Linked DNA regions of Homo sapiens: regions 1 and 2 are each linked to region 3. Evidence: promoter capture Hi-C in human tissues and cell types (Jung and others, 2019). All regions are on one chromosome and are shown on one strand. Each heading gives the region's core, a stretch centred on a gene start or on the middle of the fragment in contact. The rest is flanking DNA. Distances are from core to core; before and after follow the strand shown.

Region 1 (3,079 bases), core at 468-2,967, 73 kb before region 3:
TTGTCTTTCAGTTGTCTGCAGCTGTGGTACCACCTCCCCTATCCTAGGCTTTGCCATCCTTTTATTTCCTATCATTGTACTCCTCCCCCATCCCCACTGCAGCCCACTCAGCAGGAGTGGCTCTTCACCAAGCTCCTGTTCAGCAGGATCACCTTGCTGTAGTGTTCAGTAGGGTTCATTGGTGATGCTAATGGAAATAGTTAAGAATCAGGCTGAGATACCTAAGCTATAAAAATACATGAAACAAGATAAAATACTGCTTCTATATGATTCTGGCCTTATACTGTCTATACCTGTGTGCCCAGCTCTGCTACTTGACTAAAGGGCTTGCTTTCCTCGAATCTGAAACACACTAATGCATAGTTTGCTTCAGAAGCAGAAGGCTTCTGAAAAATGCTTTTATTTCCCTATTGCTAAGAAAACATTTGACATTAGAACTCCTTTGTGCAGGCTAGGATGTTTCCTAAGTTTTCTTTTGCAGTGATCTGCAAACACTTTTGCTTATGTACTCCCAAAATAACTTTGGAGAACCAGCATTATTTTATTTTTTAAATTAAATTTTATTGTATTTTATGTTTTTTAGAAGGGATTTCACTCTATTGTGCAGGCTGGAGTGCAGTGGTGCAATCTTGGCTCACTGCAACCTCTGTCTCCCAGGTTCAACAATTCTCCTGCCTCAGCCTCCTGAGTAGCTGGAATTACAGGTGCGCACCACCACAGCCAGCTAATTTTTGTATTTTTAGTAGAGACAGGGTTTCACCATATTGGCCAGGCTGGTCTTGAACTCCTGACCTCATGTGATCCACCTGTCTCAGCCTCCCAAAGTGCTGGGATTACAGGTGTGAGCCACCGCACCCGGCCTTCTCATGCATTTTTAAGTTGGCTCTAATATTTTTCATTATCAGTTTAATGGCATGAACAAAGTATTTCAGTATATTGTAAATATTAACATTTAAAAATACATCACAATTTTCAATGTATCCAAAGGAGTCTAAATATAACTGGAACATTTTATATCATAGTTTTGTCTTTGAACTCATTTTCATTCCACTCCGTGTGTAAAATTTTCTTCCAATGCGTACAAACTTTTAGATAGATTGCCATTATATTCCTGTGCAACCCAAGTCAGTTCCTCTTCCCATTTTTTCCCCTTGTTTCACTAAAAGGCACCACTATCTATCCCACTCCTCAAGCCAGTAACCTACAAGTCCTCCTGTCCTTCTCCTCATCACTCAGCCAATCCATCATCGAGTCCTTTTACTCCACCCTCCCATGTCAAGTCAAATCCAACCATGTCTCTCCAGCACCCTAGGGTCTTCCAGAATACTTGGGAGGAGGTTTCTCATAGAGCTCGGGCCCAATATGAACACACAGGGACAAAAACCCGGAACAATTTATATTTCATTTTGAAAACAGTATAATTGAAATGCCATTAACCTAGGCATCAAACCGGTCTAAAGTCCTGCTTGGAACACAATCAAGATGTTTTATTCTAAGTCCCACAAAATGATGTTTTGCTTTTAAAATGGATGAAATGCCAAATCAGAGTCTTCCTTGAACAAATAAGCCCTAACTGCCTCATTAGCTTTAAGCTTCTAGGATGATGCAGGCATTACAGAGGAAGGTATTATTTCACTAACTTTTTTTTTAAATCAGTTTTTTATGTAGCCAAGTGAGTTTCAAAACTTACGGATGATAGAAACTTGGGGGCAATAGCAAATTCTACTGTAAGAAACAATGCAACTACGTATGATTTGAAAGGACTGGTACACTGGGCAGCTAATCAAATGTAGCCCAGAGAGAAATATACAAAGATGAACTGTGGAAAAGAACAAAGGAGACAAAACCTCCTTGCTCAATGAAAGAGACAGAGATCCCACGCTAGGTCTAAATTCTTTGGATCTTGTTTTTCTTACATTCACCTCTCTTCTCTGACTGTATTTGGCGGCATTCATTCAAACTACATCCTGAAGGGGCAAAATAGGGATATTCACATTGGATACTATGATATACAATGATTTTAAATTTGGATTTGGATTTCAATGTTCAGTGTTGCATGATTTTTATTTTATAATCTCTTTCAATTTATTATTATTATTATTATTATTATTATTTATTTATTTTTTTTTTTTTGAGACTGAATCTCGCTCTGTCACCCAGGCTGGAGTGCAGTGGCGCGATCTGGGCTCATTGCAAGCTCCGCCTCCCGGGTTCATGCCGTTCTCCTGCCTCAGCCTCCTGAGTAGCTGGGACTACAGGTGCCCGCCACCACTCACGGCTAATTTTTTTTTTTTTTTGTATTTTTAGTAGAGACGGGGTTTCACCGTGTTAGCCAGGATGGTCTCAATCTCCTGACCTCATGATCCACCCACCTCGGCCTCCCAAAGTGCTGGGATTACAGGTGTGAGCCACTGCGCCTGGCCTTGTTTTATTATTTTTATCCACAGACTATAATAGCATTTTAGTACTCAAAAGAGTGTGATAGACTTAATTCTATAAAATTCATTTAACAAATATTTTTTAAATGCCTGCTGTGCGCCAGACACTACTGAAAGCATCAGGAGCCTGGTGTTGAACAAAGACACAAACAAATGGCTTCTCCTTCAAGAAGCCTTTAATACAATTGTTATATATAGAACATTCTAGAAAGAGTTGCTTTATGAGGTAAAGGTGAATGAAGGGAGGCTGTTTGAGTTGATGACAATCATAGCTACCATTTATTGAACATTTACTATATGCCATATTCTGTGTCATTTTATATGTACCGTGTTACCATCATAGAACAATCCTATGATGCTGGAACTATTCTCTCCATTCTACAGTTGTGAAATAGCTGGAATTATTCTCTCCATTCTACAGTTGTCATGACATGACAGAGAGGGTAAGCCTAACGTCATATAGCTAGTGAGTGGCAGAGCCAGGATTTGAACTGAAGTCTGATTTCAGGGCTCAGGCTTAGGAGTCAGGCTGTACTGCAGAGACTACCTGAGCATTTGTGAGGAATGATGTAGATAAAATGCCTGCCTTGGGTGCAAAGTTATGTTACGACTCCAAGATTGCTTTAATGCTAAAGCCCCTT
Region 2 (3,286 bases), core at 684-3,183, 120 kb before region 3:
TGACACCACACCTGGTTAAATTTTTACATTTTTTTGCAGAGATGGGGTTTTACCATGTTGCCCAGGCTGGCCTTGAACTCCTGGGCTCAAGTGATCTGCCTGCCTCAGTCTCCCAAAGTGCTGAGACTACAGGCATGAGCCACTGCACACAGCCAGAAAATTTTTGAGTAGCCTTAAATATCCTTTAAAAGCTCTTTTGGCTGGGCACGGTGGCTCATGCCTGTAATGCCAGCACTTTGAGAGGCTGAGGTGGGTGGATCACGAGGTCAGGAGTTCAAGACCAGCCTGGCCAGCATAGTGAAACCCCGTCTCTACTAAGAGGCCGGAGAATTGCTTGAACCCGGGAGGTGGAGGCTGCAGTGAGCCGAGATCGCACCACTGCACCTCAGCTTGGACAACAGAGTGAGACTTTGTCTCAAATAAAATAAAATAAAATAAAACAAAATAAAATAAAATAAAATAAAAGCTCTTTCAAGTTATCTCCTTAGCCTTTACTTTCTTGGCTAATAAATTCCAATTATTCAACTCCAGTCAGCAAATCCCTGTAAACACTCCACAAGCACAATTCTACCATAAGTGTGTAGATGTTCTATTACCTTAAGTTGATAGGATATTTTCTTCAGTGCATATGCTTCCTCTTCTGTTTTGGGAATAAATCTTATCACTTTATCACTACAAGATAAGAAAAGAAAGATGATAATTACTTTTCGAAAATAAAGATATTAGTCATCTCTTTCTTACCTCTTAAAAAACTGCCTCTGCATTTAAGAAGAAAAACAGTGAAACTTTTCACTGGCCCAGTAAGTATTTTATCCAATTTATTCTCTGATTGCATTGTTCTTTTCTTCTTGTCTTAAAGCTATTTGGTGTTTCATCAGCTTTTGAAGATTACAAACTCACATTTAATGTTATAAATGCAGAAAAAGGCCAAAAACACAAAAAGAGTGGCAACGAGGGACAGGAACTTTCATGAGCTGCTCAGAGCAGATACCAAGAAGGAAAATTTCTGATGACAGAAGAAAGAAAAGTCATTCTTTTTTTAAACATAATGCTGAAAAGGAATGTGACTTTCAGTGAGAGGATGTGAAATCCACACACTAGGGAAAGCTTCTGGTTTGAATTCTTCCCACATGGAGAACAGTAAGGAGAAGCCCATCTCTATGGGGCATCTCATTTCTCTGGTACAGAGCTTCCCACCTGGCTTGTGGGGCCAAACAAGAGGGCCGTCGGCGTTAGACACTGATGGCTGTAAATTTTTTAGTGATACAAATTAAAAATCAATGTTTACAACTGTTACCAAAACACCAGGGGTTTGGTCTAGGTCCTGCTGCTTTCTGCACATAAAGCAATCACTGAGAAGATGATTATTACCAAGAAAGAAGGCTTTAATCAGGTGCTGCAGCCAGGGAGATGGGAGCTCAGTCTCAAATCCATCTCCCTGATGGACAAAAACTACAGGTGTGTATAGCAGGGAAGAAATGTAACAATGTGTACCAAGCAGAAACTAGGGAGGAGCAAGAAAGCAATCATAATGAATGAGGGGTCTTGCATCTCACTGTCAGGATGTGATCTGGTGAGTTTCTTTCAGTTCTTTGATACTTTTTGATAGGCCTGAAGGTCACTTTCTGAGGAAGGAACTCAGATAAAACAAATATAAGTTTCAATCTTTAAGACCAGAAGAATCCACCTGTGTTTATCAAAAAAAATCTCTATAGGACTACTGGGTCAGTTTCACAACCACAAAGGTTTTACCACAGTTGAAATTATATTTGAACACAATATAAGGTTCTTTCTGTAAAGGTCCTGAATTACCTAAGATGACTTAAGGTGTTGCTGTGTCTGTCAGAAAGTTTCTCTTTGGGGGCCTTGTCTCCCAGGTGTGCCAGAAAAGTAGGCTATCAATTTTTAGGTGTGTCATGATGAGGACAGGTTGGGAAGCACAGCTCTAGCACATAATAATCACAACTATTCAATGTCTTTTGCATAGAGTAGATGCTTATTAAATATTAATGGATTGGCATAAAGGAGATTGCTGAGAGTAATTGGCTTCCAGATGAAATATAAAGGAAAAACTAAGTAAATAAAGCACAGTAGGAATTAATATTTTTCATAACTCTCTATGGCATTTTACAATGATTAAAGATAAGGTAGAATATTATTAATAGAATATAAAGCAGAAAACAAAAACTCTACTATTTCACCTACAACTTGTCTCTCCAACCCCAAAGGTGCACCAGGAATAAGAATGGAATTTGCATGATTTTCTGTCATTTTACTTCTTAGATGATGATATGATTTGGATTGTGTCCCCACCCAAATCTCATGTCAAATTGGAGGAGGGGCTTGGTGGAAGGTGATTGGTTCATGGGGGCATATTTTCCCCTTGTTGTTCTCGTGATAGTGAGTGATTTCTCACAAGATCTGATGGTTTAAAAGTGTATGTCACCTCCTTCTTTGCTCCCTCTTTCTCCTGCCACCATGTGGAGGTCCCTGCTTCCCCTTCTGCTATGATTGTAAGTTTCCTGAGGCCTCCCAGGCATGCATTCTGTTAAGCCTGTGGAACTGTGAGTTGATTAAATCTATTTTCTTCATAAATTACCCAGTCTCAGGTATTTCTTTATAGTGGTGTGAGAGTGGGATAATACAGATGGATAGCAGTTTCCAAGATGAAGTAAGGCTAATATGGAGGGCATCAGATCCCTAGAGATACTTCTGGACTTGCTGGGCAATGATTTTTTAGGGCTTTTGTGTTTATTTCCAATCATGATAGTTTTATTATTTCAAATGATCCTGTAATAGCTCCTTTAGGCCTATGAATAAAAAGGCCCTTGGCTTGCTGATAATAAATTACTGTTTTATGGACTGCTACTCTAACAGAACTTTACAGCTTTGATTTCCTCAAAATCACACAAACCACCTCTCAGTATCAATGTCATGAAGTTCATATTTCTGGAAAGAATAAAAGAAAGTACCGGGAAAAAATTGTCAAGTCACTGTAAAACAAATCTAAATATAACCTTTGGAATTTAAATGTAACCACATCTCTTCTCTTTTCTGATATACATTTCTCTGACCTGTGTTTTTTCTGGATTCATCATACCCTGGCCTTTCTCATCTGACCCAATACAATTCTTGGCAGAGAAAGCAAGCTCGGCTGGGTGATATGGCTGTTTTTGATGGATGGATCACTTGACAGCTTGCTGAAAAACACCTCCATCTGGGGCCTTGTCAGCTCCTCAAGAGTGCAAGAAAAGCAATCTGTAGCTGTTTTACAGCCATGAGAATA
Region 3 (3,316 bases), core at 360-2,859:
TGAGATCTTGTATGTCCAGGCCAAAAGGCAGCCCTGGGATGTTAACTCCTTTCCGTTCCTCCCAGAAATACTGGGGTGGAAAAATCCGTGATCATATTGCCATCTATAGCCCCTACCTCAGCCAACACCTCCATCTCATCCTGCCTCCCCTAAAACTGAGGACATGTTTCCAAAATTTCCTCTGTAAGCACTGTATTCAGAGGAACCCTAAAGGCAGTGCCAAGATTCTTTGGGAGAGAAAGAGAAATACAATTCTCTTTTCCAGGGTCACACTTACAAATTCTCTTTTACACTATTTCTAAAAAGAACAACTTGGTTTTAAGACACTGTACACTACCTTGTCATGATCCAGATCTACATGAAAACTTTTCTCAGGTGGTGATTATTGAATGATAGTAGCCTATTTAAAAATATGTAAGACACTGAGTTTACTCCTCTGTAAAAAGGAATTGAACTAGAGGAAGTATTTAAGGTTTTTCCAGATCTAAAGTGCAGGCAAGCCATAATTTCCAGATTCTAAGAACGACCCCCTGCATATGTGAGCAAATCACATGCTGTCTATACCACAGCAAGCCTTCAGGATAATAAGAATGTGCATAGTAACACACGGCTTCCAGCCCTCTGCCTCCTGAAGAAAGGCATATAGAAAGCATGCTTACCTACGGAGGGGGGACAAAACTGATTGTTTTACTCCTATGTTTTTCCTTCAGAAAAACTATCCATAATTTTACAGTTGACTACTTTTATTCTGCTTATTTTGAGTTGAATCATTTGCATTGCTCATATTTAAAAATCTAATAACCACTCTACAGACTAATAAGCACAGACAAAAAAAAAATCACACTCAGTTCTTAATCACTGATGAATTTCAACCCACCGCTCCTACATACAATTGTAAAGAAAGGCTTAGTTTTCAGGTCATAAATCATGTAGGACAACAGCATCCCCAAGCATCAACCAAGGCAAACACTGTAAATACTGACCATGGCTACTCCAAAGACAGAATCCCATTCAACCCTGGGTCCACAGCTAAGGTTGGCACATGATAAAAAGTATAAAAAGCCAGGTTGGAGCCCACCACATTCTCTCAGTGAGCTAAAGCCAAGAGCAGAGAGCTGTGAGTACATTTTATATAGAGGACCGTGAAAGTGTGCAGATTCACTCAGAGACCCCCAAATCAGAAAAAGTGAGGCACACTCTGGAGCAAACCAGCCCCCAGATCCAAATCAAAGCTGTGTAGGGCATGAATGTCGCTCCACTTACCCAGCATAGCGGTTGTTATAAAGGTGGCTGTGCCCCGGTTGCAGAATCTTCAAAAAGAGCCAGCAAAGAGGCAGGAAAGCAGCTGCCTGGCCCCTGCGCTTCCCGAGACACTTCATAGTGTTAAGAAGAGAGGAGTTGAAAGTTACTTAAGCAGCCACCCGAGGCTGGAGGTGGCTCACAGCACCCTCTACACACCGCACAGGTTCTCCGGGAAGGGGGTGGGCGAGGAAGGTTGAGAGTGAGCAAAATGTGACACTTCTCTCCAGCTACAAGGGAAAAAAAAAGTTCAGGCAGCTGAGGAAGGGAAGTTGCTATTACGACTTGGTCTTGGGACAAGCAGCAGCAGCAGCAGCAGCAGCTGAGCCTGATCTTTAATCAGGCTCCCCTAGAAAGGGCTGGGCCTCCCTCGTGCTGACTCACGGCAGGGGTTCACTGGGTGCTGCTTCCTTTGGGTGACTCCTCTCTGCTTTTGGTTTGTTTGCTTTCCCAACTTGAGGCCTCTAACTTTTCTGTGCAAGCTTTCTTTCTCTATCTTCTTCAGCATGAGGATCCTACCTAATTGCAAATGATTTGTCTGATGGGCTAAACAAGCAGACATGGATTATTCCAAGCTTAATGTTTTTTTGATCTCCCATGACAGATTCCTAAACGGATTCCACCTAATGAAATGCACAATGAACAATCATGATGAGAACGTGCACGGGGGTACCTATAGCACCCAGATCCGAACAGCTGGCTTCAGTTCACTGCTCCTGACTTACAGGAGTGGTCAGTGGCTTTATTGGGCTTCAGGGAGATCTTGGTACTCATTCTGCATCAGCAGCACCCAGACCTGCTGCTGTTTCAGAGGTTCTCGTGGGGAATAGGAGGCCTTCGAGTGCTTTGCCACCTTGGCTGTACATTTGGAATCATTTAGGGAGCCAGACCTTGAAAATAGAAACCGTGGTGGTGGGATCAGTGGTTTAAAAAGCTCCTTAGGTGATTCCAATATTCAACCACCATGCTGGTCTGGAGCAGGGCTTCTCAGAGCTCCACATGCATAGAAGTCACCTGGGGATCTCATTAAACTGCAGCTCTGACGTAGGTTGGAACAGGGGCCTAAGAGTTTTTATTTTTCTTTTTTGAGACAGAGTTTCGCTCTTGTTGCCCAGGCTGGATGGAGTGCCAAGTCCCCATCTCGGCTCACTGCAACCTCCGCCTCCCAGGTTCAAGCGATTCTCCTGCCTCAGCCTCCTGAGTAGCTCGGATTACAGGTGCCTACCACCACGCCCAGCTAATTTTTGTATTTTTAGTAGAGACGAGGTTTCCCCATGTCGGTCAGGCTGGTCTTGAACTCGTGACCTCAGGCAATCTGCTTGTCTCGGCCTTGCGAAGTGCTGGGATTACAGGTGTGAGCCACCACGCCTGGCCGAGTCTGCATTTCTAAAGAAGCTTCCAGGTGATGCTGGTGCCACTGGCTCTTCAGCCACACTTGGAGTAGCAAGACTTCACTTTAGAATGAGGTCTGCTTTTTCTTCCAAGCAAACCTTGGAGAAAACCATTTCCTTCTCTTTTTTCCCATGTTGATGATGAAAGCTTTTTAAAATTATTATTTGCATCCACTTGCTCCTATTCCAATACGCCACAAAACCCATTACAGGGGATGTGCCTCGCCCTATTAAATAAGCATAGGCACCTAGGGTGCCTCCTGTTACCTTTCATGCCCAGTCCTGGTTGTGCTCTAAAACAGAGAGTGAGCCACTATTTCCTCATCACACTCACAAAACTTTTCAGGCTTCCTGGAGAGTCATAGCCAAGAACTCCTGTACCCTCTAATACTATAGCCAGAGTCCCTGTTAGAAGAGAGAGCACCCAATCTTTCCCATCTTCTCTACCTGGGGAGTTGAACCAAAACTCCTTTGACAGATTCAATGTCAGGTTCATGAAACAGCTGAAATGGTTTTCATTTGAAATGATGCTCTGAATTTTTCTGCAACTTTCTCAGCATCAGTTTGGTTAATGCCTCCTCTGTGTCCCTCACAAATCCTGGCATGTCCTCTACTGTAGGAATTAC

Evidence for each region. Contacts are between HindIII fragments. The study calls those that stand out against the background at their distance.
Region 1: a contact is called between a fragment that was not itself captured here and the fragment with the promoter of CPA6 in region 3, in 4 of the 25 tissues and cell types used here (H1 embryonic stem cells, adrenal gland, bladder and 1 more).
Region 2: a contact is called between a fragment that was not itself captured here and the fragment with the promoter of CPA6 in region 3, in 3 of the 25 tissues and cell types used here (H1 embryonic stem cells, hippocampus and spleen).

What each region holds. Positions count from the first base shown.
Region 1 is chr8:67,671,269-67,674,347 of GRCh38, forward strand. All of the region lies in intron 1 of CPA6 (carboxypeptidase A6), which reads right to left. Among named protein-coding and RNA genes, the nearest start is that of CPA6, 74 kb to the right of the region's middle. The HindIII fragment of the contact is 4,764 bases long and covers 1-3,079 here.
Region 2 is chr8:67,623,580-67,626,865 of GRCh38, forward strand. It overlaps CPA6 (carboxypeptidase A6), which reads right to left. Exons shown (of 11, transcript NM_020361.5): 2 at 597-672. Among named protein-coding and RNA genes, the nearest start is that of CPA6, 120 kb to the right of the region's middle. The HindIII fragment of the contact is 4,611 bases long and covers 1-3,286 here.
Region 3 is chr8:67,744,751-67,748,066 of GRCh38, forward strand. It overlaps CPA6 (carboxypeptidase A6), which reads right to left and starts at 1,610. Exons shown (of 11, transcript NM_020361.5): 1 at 1,264-1,610. The coding sequence starts at 1,379. RefSeq lists an enhancer at 1,436-1,936. The HindIII fragment of the contact is 6,623 bases long and covers 1-2,284 here.